Linked DNA regions of Homo sapiens: region 2 is linked to region 1. The links are contacts of gene promoters, found by promoter capture Hi-C in blood cells and fetal thymus (Javierre and others, 2016). All regions are on one chromosome and are shown on one strand. The core of a region is centred on a gene start or on the middle of the fragment in contact, and the rest is flanking DNA. Distances in the headings are between cores, read along the strand shown.

Region 1 (6,069 bases), core at 3,357-5,856:
GTTAAATATTAATTTTTCCAAATTGACTAATATGGTCTTATCAAAATTACTAAATGATAACTCTGAGGCATTGTGAATAAAGTACTGTGTTTGTTTACTAAGCCTGCCATAACAAAATACCACTGACTGGGTGGCTTATCCAACAGGAATTTATTTTCTCACAGTTCTGCAGGTTAGAAGTCTAAGATCAAGGTGTCGGTAGGTTTGGTTTCTCTGGGGCCTCTCTCTTTGGCTTGCAGATTGCTGCCTTCACGTGGTCCTTACTCTGAGTGTACGTATCCCTGGTGTCTCTTCCTCTTTTTGTAAGAATACTAGACATATTGGATGAGGCCCCACCCTTAAAATCTCATTTAACCTAAGTTACCTCTTTGAAGGCCTTATCTTCAAATATAGTCATATTAGGGGTTAGGGCATGAACACAGGAATTTTGGAAGGAAACACTTTAGTCCAAAACAAGTATATGTTAATGAATTTGAATCCAGAACAGATTTTATTTTTAAATATTTTATTTGCTTTGAAGGGTCCTAAATACAAGAAACTTAAGTTTACACTGTATTATGGGCTGAATTGTGTTCCCCAAAATTCACATGTTGAAGCTCTAATCCCCAGCACCTCAGAATGAGACTGTGGTTGGAGTGCTAAATTAAATAAGCATGAGGCCATTCACCTAGGGTTGTCTGTGTATTTTGAGTTCCTATACAACAAACTGCAACCTAACTAGTATGTAAATAAACTGAACACTAATTTGGAAGTATAACACATAGCTAAGTTTCAGCCAATTACAGGCAGCCAGCTCATCACTACATATCCATATAAGGTATATGCCTTGCTATAGCCAATCAGGTGAGTTGTCACCTTTGAGTCTGTGTTCAGCCTATAAAAAGCTCCATGTTCACGCTGCTGGGCAAACCTTTCTGAACATCTGGTTTCAAGTGCTGCCTGATTCATGAATCATTATCTGTTCAAATAAACTCTGCTAAATTTAATTTGTCTAGTTTTTCTTCAAACAGGAGATAAGGCCTTTAAAAAGGTAACTAAGTTAAAATAAGGCCATGAGTATGGTTCCTAATCCAATTTGATGAGTGTCCTTATAAGAAGAGACACCAGACAAGTGTGAAAAGGCAGCAAGAGGGCAGCCCTCTGTAAGCCAAGGAGAAAGGCTACAGAGGAAACTAACCCTGCTGGCATCTTGATCTTGGAACTCCAGCCTCCACAACTGTGAGAAAATATTTTCTGCTGTTTAAGCCACCCAGTTTGTGGTGTTTTGTTTCAGCCTCCGTAAAAAACTAATACACACTGATTACATCTACAGGAAATAAAAGTCAATGCAGAATATTTTAATAACACACAGCTTTTATCTTCTTTCATACTCAGTGAACCACACTGTATGCATCTCTTTCACATCTCATGAAAAAAACATTCCCAAATACACGTCCAAACACTGTTGAATGCACTTAACATAAGTTATTAATATTATATCCCAAACAAGCTGAAGAAAAGATCACTTATAATGCAATTCCAAAAGTTGTTTTCACTTCTAAAACTCCTAGAGTTTCGAACTGTCATTAACTCAGAACTAAACAGTTCAGGGTGGCAAAAAATTTTAAATATTTGTTAAAGTAGGAATATAATTGCAATTAATTAAAGATTGCCTCTAACATTAAAAAAAAAGCCTTACCTTTGTTTTGGGTTCTAGAATTTTTACTCCATAAATTGATATTTGCAACTCCACTTTAGGAATTTTCTGGCCTTCAGATTTCTTGATATGTCTTGCAAACTACGAATGAAAAATTATTCACAAAGCTACACTTCTATTTCTATAAAGAATGAACAAAAATAAATATACATTTGGAGTTCATATTCAATTTCAGACTTTAATTAAGTGAATTTTTGCCAAGTATAAAGCATTTTATAAAGATAGTCTCAATATATTTAAAAATCATAGCAATCAGCCATTATAATTCACATTGATTTTCAGCAAGTTTTTTAAATTAAGATTTTTAATGCACTTCTTTCATGGTATTTACAAAAACGTATTCATACCAGACAGTTGAGAAAACTCAAAATACTTTGTGGGAAGATATGTAGAGATCAGTTTGTTTTTCTGTGAATCTTTTGTTGTTATTATCTTCAGAGAATTTGCAGTTCATCAGCTGTTGAATATGCCCTCTTTGCCATTTTTAGATACTTACCTAGTTTGGAACACTATTCTATCCAACCACATCAATAAATAAAAAGAAGCAGATTACCATTTCCAAACTGAAGCTAAGAATTGAAGTAATTATCCCAGCTGAAAGACTCAGGTATAGAACTAGACTCAGTCTAGAACTACAAATATAGTGAGTATCTTGAAAGCACAGTTTTTTTTTTCAATACTTTCATAGTAGTATTTATTATACTTTCTCATTGAGTTAGTAGGTGTATGTAAATGCTTGTTCGATTCTGTTATAAAATCAAAAAGAAAACCAGAATACTCATGTGCTTAGCAGATGGAGTCTCTGCCTCTCTCCTAGCATTGCTTAATTTAGTGGGGGAAAATTTCAGGAGCCCAGCTAAACTTGAGTATTAAACAATTAATATTCTTTTTAAAACTTTAATTTTAAAATATAGGCACAAACACAACATATATATAGTATTTAGTATACACGTTAGCCCATGCAATATTTGGAACATATTTGTACTAAAAAATATTTGTCAAAGTTTACTGGGCATCTTGATTTTAATTGGCAATTTTACTCTCTCCCTACATTCCTTCTCTCCTCTGCAATCACCCCAGCATCCAACTTTTTCTTTTTAAGAAATGGAAAGAAAACTATTAGAAGAAAGAATTTCTTGCCCCTCTTCTAGGGCTTCAAAAAGTTATTTTCTAGAGTAACTTTTTCTCTCTAGGGATATAGATCATCCCAACCTGACTCAAAATTGATGACATGTAATGCAAGACAGCGTTCTAGTCCTCTTGTATGTCACAGTTACTTGCACTGTGTATTTCACTGTAATTTAGGGCAGATGTGAATACACATGGTATAGCTCCGTCCTGGAGCACAGAGTGATTAAAAGTCTTTCTCTCTTTTCATGGCTTTGCACTGCCACACATAATAATATAATTAATGCATATATGAATGCCTTTAAGTGTCTGCCTTCCTATCCCAGGGGGTACCATTTGTTTTATTCCATTTTGGGTGGTATAATTTTTCAGCTTGCTGTCTGTCTTGCTCTACGAACTTAGGTTGCTATTTTTTGTATCCAGCAGTCTTACTGCTGCACGATACAACTAATTCGTGCCAGATAATTTTCTTTTTTGCCTTTAATAAATTTATTTTGCTTGAGTGTAGATCTTTAAAAATTATCCCAGCTCTCTCCCAAATAATATGAATTAATTTTGTTTATTTTCCCTTCATAATCTCCTTATATCAGCATAATTAAGCAATTTGAAGGTTTTCATATAGGAAGGCTTACAAAATAAGTCAGCTGCTCTCCCCCTATGTGAATGCGTCTGGATAAAGCAACTCTCATTATCAGCTGCAGAAGCATTCTCAGCTGGTTTCCTAGGTGCTGCTGTTTTCCAGGAACAGACTGAGCATGACTTCTGAAGCCCCTTCCACATCCAGACTCAAGCATTCCTGTGACCTCTGACAAGAACTGTGCAACCTTTTAAATTTTTTCCCCCTGAAACATCTACAACAAAACAACCACTATTATTAAACTTATCTATTGAGAAGGGAAGAAAGAATGGAAGAATTAAAGAAAGGAAGGAAGTAGGGGCTGAGGTAGAAAAACAAAGTGGAGAGGTAAGAAGGGAGTGGGGAGGAAGAAAGGAAGAGAGGGAAGAAGGACAGAATGAGATAAAGAAAAATAAAAATAAGCACAACATCTCTAATCTAGGTTTTCTGAAACTTTTCTCTCTTCTTCATAACAGGATGAATTAATTGTGCTCAAAACAGCTTCAGGTTCATGCAATCTAAGCTTCTTATTTCAAAGATAAGAACAGTAAGTCCCAGATAAGCTATGTACCATGGTCATAAAGTGGGTTTTTAGGAATTAGGCCTAGTAATTAGTTTTGCAGATATTCACCAAATAATTTTTTCTTTTATACAATATATTTTCTGCATTTAGAAAAGAAAATTCCCAGTTCTACCTTCATGCATATCAAGGTTTACACTGGTTATTGGCCTTGATTTTTGAACATATGTTACACAACTCTCATGCCTAAGGTTATATTCATTCAATCTATATTTTATTCAGTTTAATATTCTCCTTCCTGCCTTTCTTTTTTTTCCTAAAACTTAAGCTAACTGTATTCTATAGTTTGCATGCTCCCCTCTAAGTCCCTTTTCCTACTTACAGACCTCTTGCCTTCCTAATATTTCTAATTAATCTTAGGAAGATATGTTGATCAATCTACATAACATTATATTCTATTTTCTCCCTATTTACTACTTTAATGTTAATGCTTGAAGAGTCTTTTTTTGTAAATTTCTTTCAATTTTTGCTTCAGTGGATTTATTTCTTGGTAGATCTAGATGGATACAGTGATCTGCCATTAAACCCTGAATATAATAATCCAATAAAAAGTATTCAAAGGAAGTGATGCATAAGCATTTTGGAGAATGACTGGATGCAACAAACAAATATAACCAAGCCTTTGTCATCATAAAATGATGGGGAAGGATGGAGTAGTACTTGAAATAAAGTATTTGGTTAAATATATACTACTGATAAATAGAACTGTTAAAGAAAATTTAAAGGGAGCACAACTGAGTTTCAATCTTATTATATAATTTCTATCCATTTCTCAGAGGACTTTTTAAAAAGTGAAATTAAGTAAACTACTAATGGAATATAGAGTGTTAGGCAATAAAATTAATTTACTACTTCGGGCCTATTATTTGAAGCTATTCTTCTCTGGGGTTCTCATGTTTATATTTTTAATTTAAAGTATTTCTAATAATCCTGCGGGAAATGAGCGATGTTTATATATAATTAAATTAAGCTCTAAATGTTTTATTAATTAGGTAACTGATTGTGAAGACAAAATAGTGTTATACAACACAGAAAGAGTGAGTTCAAATGGAAAATCTACTAGGCTGAGACTTCACAAGACTTGACAGCAATTCCCAACGGCTACATTTTCTTGCAGTAATTTCGTGTAACTTTAATTTAGTTGTACTGCAGTGAGGGGATCTTCAGTCTAAAACTGGGTTCCAGGAATGCTGCCCACTGGGTATCTCCCAGGGAAATTGATAAGCTTTTAATCTATATATCAATACTTACTTACATGTAAACATCACAAATTGTGTATGAAATACATTCAGCCCCCAACATCTGTACTAGTTGTATTAATAAAATATATATAAATCACTATTAAAAATAAAATTCGTTCCAATAACAATGCTATTCAATACATAGAAGTTGAAAGGGTTTAAAATTACTACATTTTAGAAAATTTGTTTTATTTGTTGTTGTTTTTGTTTTTTTGTTTTTTGAGATGAAGTTTCCCTCTTGTTGCCCAGGCTGGAGTGCAATGGCGCGATCGCGGCTCACTGCAACCCCTGCTTCCCAGGTTCAAGTGATTCTCCTGCCTCAGCCTCCCAAGTAGCTGGGATTACAGGTGTGTGCCACCAAGCCCAGCTAAAACATGATTAAGAAATAGAAACTGCTGAACATGATTAGGAAATAAAGAACATGTTTTGATAAATATAGTATCTGAACCTTAAAAGGTTAATACTTATAAAAATAATTATATTTATAAAGGAAAAATTTATAAACTGTAAATTCTCTAAAAAATGATAGAAAGAGTGTAAAAAAGTCAGTTTTAAATTTTTTTGAAAACTAAGCAGGCATCATTAAACACAGAAGCATGAAAAATTCATTGTTGAGAATTCTTTAATTTTTCCATCAGCTTTTATTCTTAAATTTTAAATTCTTTTTTAATATCAGAAGCCATTACATTAATATTGCTGAAAAAGGAGTAAATATAAATAAAATGTTACCTTACATGGCAAATAAATTCACATACTGAATTATATAGATTTTTTTAAAAGTAGTCAGAATTCATATGTTAAAGAAAAA
Region 2 (6,753 bases), core at 397-2,896, 920 kb before region 1:
CTCCTCGAAGGCAGGATCAATATTAAAATTATCTTAGTTTTTGTCACTGCAGCATGTTATACATAATATATAGTTGACAAGTACTTAAAAAATGAATTGTTGGGCTTAGCAAATCAAACACACAATGGACCTCATTATAATGAATAAGGTATAAGAACAGTACTGGTTACATGGATATGAGTCCGAAGCGTCACAGTGTGACAGCCTCTTAAAGCCTGTTTCTTCCTTTGATTCATAAGATCAATGTCAACAAAGCCACAGGACTCATTTTTTTTTGGCTTCTAAGGCAATTTATAAAAGCTCTTTCAGTCATGCTTGCATTACCTTCAACAACTACCTGTCGTACACTCATATGCAGAATATTGTGGGGGTGGGCCGGGCACAGTTGCTCACTGTAATCGCTGCACTTTGGGAGGTTCAGGTGGGCAGATCACTTGAGGCCAGGAGTTCCAGGGCAGCCTGGCCAACATGGCGAAACCCTCTCTCTACTAAAAATACAAAAATTAGCGGGCGTGGTGGCCCGCGCTTATAATACTTGCTACTCAGGAGGCCGAGGCACCAGAATTGCTTGAACCAGGGAGGCGGAGGTTGCAATGAGCCTAGATTGAGCCACTGCACTCCAGCCTGGGTGACAGAGTGAGATTCTGCATCAAAAAAAAAAAAAAAAAAAAAAAAAAGAATATTGTGGAGGCTACAAACTTTCATAAAATACTATCTCTACTCTTCTAAGGCAGAAAGGGTTTTTTGATTTTATTAAGTGCCACCCTACCTAAAGTTATTTGAAAACCTGACAATACAGTAATAATGATTACAGCTACATACATTGAGCCATTATGTGCCGGGCATTGTTGTCTGTAGTTTTAACATATTGAGGCATTTAATCCTCCCAATAACCACGTGAGATGAACTAAATATTGTCCCCCTTTACAGATGATGGCAACTGAGGCAAAGATTAAGAAACTTACAAAGGTTTCATAATGTAAGAAGTGGATTTTGAAGCCAGGGAGTGGTTTGGTTTCCAGCTACACTGAGAAAAGAGACCAAGTCTTAGCGTATTTTTATCTCATAAAGAATCTAACATCTGTTTTCATGTAAAGTTCCGAAAAGACTGCACTATGCTTCATGCACTATGCTTCAGGAGTGAGGAGTGGGTAGAAAAAGCGGAATAGTTTTAGGTTTTAGTCACTCCAAAACATGATTCTGTACGAAAGAGTAGGTACTGCAAAGGTAGTGGCATACACATCCACCCCTGGACCATTTTCCAGCCGCCCGAACACCTTCCAGATCCTCGACACGGAGACCGGCTCCAGGGCCTTTATCTACCTGCAGGTAAACTGTCCAGGAATCGGGGGACGCAACCCAATCTGCAGTGGTAACGGGACCTCCCAGGTACCCTGGGGATCCCCCACAGGCGCGTGCTCTACCCAAAGCCGATATCCGCCAGGCGGGCGAGTCCGAACGCGACTGACAATTCCTTCTCCCCGACCCTCGAGAAACTCACGCCCCGCCCCTCAGCCGACAAAGCGCGGTGCCCCTCATACTTAGAATCTGCAGAGAACACAGCTCTCCTAAAGTTCAACTCGCTGCCGCCACAACGAACCACGCGGATGTTCTCCTCCTCCACCATCTTTGCGCAGTAGCGGAATGGCCAATCTCTGGTCCCGCCCTGAACTTCCTTCGTTGAGCCGGGTAATAAGGCTGTTCCCAGCCCACAGAACCCACCCCCGGGCCCTTCTAGGCCTGAGACTCGGTGGTAGGACTCCGCTTCCGTGCAGGCACCTTTTGTGTGGGCAATGTCAAACTAAGACACTTGTAAGAAAAGGTGAAAGCAAAACAGAGATTTAGAGACAATCAGTTTTTATTATATACCTATACACAATTATTTAATACAGACATATTTCTCTCAGGCCTTGTCAACCTGACTCTATGGCTTTTTCCGCCAGAAGGGAAAGGTGGCGTATAGTGTACCACGTGACCTCCAGTCGTCCCACCGGAGGCGTCGCTTTCTAGTGTCTGTGGTGTCGGCGCTGCAGGATGACGCGAGCCTCTCGCGTCCCTGGTTTTCTCGGTCGCAGCGTTGAGTTATTGGGTGGAAAGGTAGCTTTCTCTTCCTTGTACAGCTTTTTGTTCCTCTCATTAGCCGTTCTTCTGTTCTTGTGAACATCGCTTAGGTTACTACAGAATCTCCACAGTCCTAGGGCCTAGCTTTCTTCCTTTGGAAATCTGGCTCCTACTCCGGGATTCTGGTGCATCTTCCGCAGCGTTCAGTGTAGCTGCTCGGGCTAATCTGACATTCGGCCAGTCCCGCCAGGTTTCAGGGCGCTGGTCTCTGGTTTCCTGAGTTTTACCTTTTCCCATTAGTGAATAGAATCTGTGGGTTAGGAACCCCTAAAATCTCAACATGTTTATTTTTGCCAGTTTATCTCCAGTTTTCCTTTGTAAACTTACACGTATCATATTCTTGGACCCTGTATATTATGTTGCCTATTTTGATTTCGCTTCTTGATTTGTGGATTTACCACAAAATTACCAAGGTCTCAAATATAGTCACATGTCACATAAGGATCTTTCAATCAATGCATATAACATGGTGATTCCGTAAGATTATAATACTGTGTTTTTACTGTACCTTTTATGTGTTTAAATACACAAATACTATTCTGTTACAATTGCCTGCAATATTGAGTACAGTAACATGTTGTTCAGATTTGTAGCCTAGGAGCAATCAGCTATAACGTACAGCCTAGGTGTGTAGTAGGCTGTACCATCTAGGTTTGTGTAGGTACACTCTGTGATATTCACACAATGATGAAATCACCTAAAATGCATTTCTTAGAACATATCCCCATCATTAAGCCACACATGATTATACCTATAAGTTTATTTATGGTGGAGAAATACAATATTCACAAAGGTCAAGACATATCCTGGGACAGCACCACTGTAAAAATCAGGGATAAATTTACTTTTTACTGAGGAGTCTAGCTTATTAAAGTGCTCAAAACTTTATTATTTGGGGAGCCAGAACTAGAAAGGGAGATATTTAATAATTTTGGTTTATCTCAAGCTGTAACCAGCTTTCTCTTTCATGACTGTGATACCCTTTGTCACAGTGGATGGAGTGTAAAATATCACTTTTGATTCTGCAGCCTTAACCTCTTTTTGTTTAGTCTCTTGATGTATGCACAATAAATCTTTTAAAGACTTTGTTGGGTACTTTGTAACCTGATACAGGCTTTTCCTTAGGGCCTGAGCCAAGAAACAAAATAAATATTTTCACTCAAATTAGTGTGACTTTAGTTGTATGTTACTGTATGGTAACTTTAGATTTTTCAGAAAAGAATCAGAAATCCTGATATGGACAAAAACTAGCTGGATTGATAAATGTATAGGAGGATTATTTTACACAGAGTTTTAATTTACTGAAGTGCCCAGAAAGATAAGTCATTTGTATTTTGATTTCTTTTTACATAATTTTTAAGGAACCAATCCCACCTACAGCTGTTTAATTAATAGTGCGTTGTCTTTATCATGTAACAAGAAGGCTGAGGTAGGCAGAATAGGGCTAGTGCAGTGGATCATTCATGCCACCAGGGACCTGTGCTTTCTCTACTTTGTTCTTTGTGTTATTGTCCTTAACCATATTGGTTTTGTCCTTATGCTCACAGTTCATGTTCCTTTCAGTTAGAAGAAATAAGGGAATAGCAAGAAAGAGCATAGCCTATATACAGAAGGAAAAGGATTTTCCAGAAACACTTATTTGGCATCTTCCATCCAGGAAATATTTACTAAGTGCCTAGTATATGCCAGACATTCTTTCAGGCTCTGGGAATACTGGAGTGAGAAAAATAGTTAACAAAATCTGTATGTTACTGGACCTTACCTTATCATGGGAAGAAACAAAAACTTATTATACTTTTGATGTATTTATGTGCCAAGGGGAAACTCAAAGTAGAAAAGAAAGTGATTATAAGGGTTTGATCACCTTTATTATGGGTTTTCAGGGAAAGCCTTACTGAGAAGGTAACATTTGAAATAACCTGAAAAGGTTGAGAGTGTGAATAAGCATGGAGCTGTTTGGTGAAAGAGTCAGCCAGAGGAAAGAGTATTCCTTTCCATGTTCAAGATAAGTCAAGAGGCCAGTGTGGCTGGAGAATAATCATCAAGGGGGTATAGTAAAAGGTGAGGTCAGAGAGGTAATAAGAGGCCAGTTCATAGGGTCTCCTAGATCATTGTAACAGCTTTGGGTTTTACTCTGAAATTGAAGACAGTGTAGCCTTTGTGTTAAAAAGTGAAACGATTAGGCTAATTTTAAAAATTTACATACAATAAAATCTGCTTTCTTTGATATCTATGATGCACAAATTATCGTATCCACCATCACAAATAGGATACAGAAGAATTCCAGCACCTCAAAGAATTCCCCAGTATTTCTCCTTCCCCTCCCCAAGACCTATCCCCTGGCAACCACTAATGTTCTCCATCCCTAGTTTTGCCTTTTCCAGAAAGCCATGTATAAATGGTATCATATAGTATGTAACCTTTTCAGTCTAGCTTCTTTCAGTTAGCATATTGCATTTATGTTATGTGCATCAGTGCTTTATATTGCTGAGTGGTATTCCATTGTATGGCTATTTCACAGTTTATTTGTTGAATGTGTTTTACCCCCAGGTTTTAGAAATTATGCATAATACTTCTCTAAACATTCATATGTAGGTTTATGTGTGAACATAAGCTTTTATTTTTCTAGGATAAATACCAGCAAATGAGATTGCTCAAATCATAAGTGTATGTTTATTTAAGAAATTGCCAAACTCTTTTTTTCCCAGAGTTACTGTACTATTTTTGCATTTCCATAAGTAATGTATGAAAGTTTTAGTTACTTTACACCCTTGTCAGGACTTGGTATTGTCAAGGTTTTTTTTTTTTATTTTAGCCATCATAATAAGTTTGTAGTGGTATTTCATTGTGGTTTTAATTTTCACTTCCCTAATGACTAATGCTGAGCATCATTTTATATCCTCTTTGGTGAAGTGTCATCAAGTCCTTCACGCATTGCTTTATTGGTTATCTTCTTGTTGAGTTTTGAGCATTCTCTTTTAAAATTTTTATTTTTATTTATTTTTTATTTAATAAAATTTTTAAAAGCTTTCCCATTAGTGAGAAGGATTTAGTCACATTTTTACTGCTTAGTATCTTCATGTATGTTTCTGTTCCCTTCAACAGATATAAACACCATGTACAGTATTTCACACCACTACCCTGCATAATGTACATAGGAGACATCTTCAAGCAGATTACATCGATTTTGTATTAATGTCATGAATTACTTAGTGATAGGCCCTTGGGCTCTGCTATGTTTCCTCATTCCCTAATGATGGTGCAATTTTTATCTCTTCTTAGGTTTCCTATGATGCTGAAATCCTTATCTATCCCATATATTTTTCATTCTGCACTTTCTCTCTTGTATACCTCTGCCCTAGGAACCTCAGGCAGTTAAGTGATGATTATCACAAGCGGGTTATGTTCCATTTAAGGTTAACAGTTCTCATGGTTATAATTACACCTTTTCTGTTTTGGCTATGATTAAACCCATAGATTAAAATTGTATGATCTCTTGTACCCAGTGGCTAAAGCGAAATTTTAGAATGGTTTGAAATGTTGTTGCACAAAGTGTGGTCCGTGGACCAGCAACAGCAGTGTCACCTGGGAGCTTGTTAGAAATGCAGAAACTCATGCCCTACCCAGATATGTGGGATCAGAATCTGCATTCTAACAAGATCTGCAGGTGATTCCTATGCATATTTAAGTTTGAGAAGTACTACTTTAAAAAATAATCTAATGGCAGCTCTATATACAAATGGCTCTCAGTTGGTGCCTCCCACGGGCCAGCCACGTGCTTGATGCTTCATATATTTCTAATTATCTCAACAGCCCTGGAGGTGATATTTCTGTTCTATAGGTGAAAAACCTAAGACTTACTATGCTAACTTACCCTAGATCATTCTGCTTATAATCAGTAGCGCTGATCTTGGAACACAGTGGTGTCTGCTTCAAAGACTATCTCGTTCAGACTTTCTCTCTCTCTTTTTTTTTAAATCAACTTTTATTTTAAGTTCCAGGGTACATGCGCAGGATGTGCAGGTTTGTTATATAGGTAAATGTGTGCCATGGTGGTTTGCTGAACAGATCAACCCATGACCTAGGCACTAAGCCTAGCATCAAATTAGCTATTCTTCCTGATGCTCTCCCTCCACTCGGCCACCCCTGCGACAGGCCCCAGTGTGTGTTGTTCCCCTCTATGAGTTTATGTATTCTCATCACCACCTCCCACTTATAAGTGAGAACATGTGGTGTTTGTTTTTTTTGTTTCAGTGTTAGTTTGCTGAGGATAATGGCTTCCAGCTCCATACATGTCCCTGCAAAGGACATGATCTTGTTCCTTTTTGTGGCTGCATAGTATTCCATAGTGTATATGTACCATATTTTCTTCATCCAGTCTATCATTGATGGGCATTTAGGTTGATTCCACGTCTTCAGTATTTTAAATAGTGCTACAGTGAACATATACATGCATGTATCTTTTTTTATTATTATTGTACTTTAAGTTCTAGGGTACATGTGCACAATGTGCAAGTTTGTTACATATGTATACATGTGCCATGTTGGTGTGCTGCACCCATTAACTCGTCATTTACATTAGGTATATCTCCTAATGCTATACCTCCCCGCTCCCCCCACCCCACAACAGGC

Evidence for each region. Contacts are between HindIII fragments. The CHiCAGO score rates a contact against its expected background, and 5 or more counts as called.
Region 2: a contact is called between the fragment with the promoter of WDR75 here and a fragment that was not itself captured in region 1, in 3 of 17 cell types (megakaryocytes, fetal thymus and erythroblasts). The highest score is 8.6, in megakaryocytes.

The regions. Positions count from the first base shown.
Region 1 is chr2:188,524,805-188,530,873 of GRCh38, reverse strand. GULP1 (GULP PTB domain containing engulfment adaptor 1) reads right to left here. Exons shown (of 12, transcript NM_016315.4): 6 at 1,679-1,777. Among named protein-coding and RNA genes, the nearest start is that of MIR561, 230 kb to the right of the region's middle. The HindIII fragment of the contact is 1,282 bases long and covers 3,966-5,247 here.
Region 2 is chr2:189,436,367-189,443,119 of GRCh38, reverse strand. It overlaps WDR75 (WD repeat domain 75), which reads right to left and starts at 1,646. Exons shown (of 21, transcript NM_032168.3): 1 at 1,542-1,646. The coding sequence starts at 1,627. It also overlaps a transcript of COL5A2 not described here. RefSeq lists enhancers at 1,201-1,250, 1,271-1,500, 1,521-1,650, 1,911-2,130, 2,151-2,310 and 1 more. The HindIII fragment of the contact is 5,353 bases long and covers 1-4,737 here.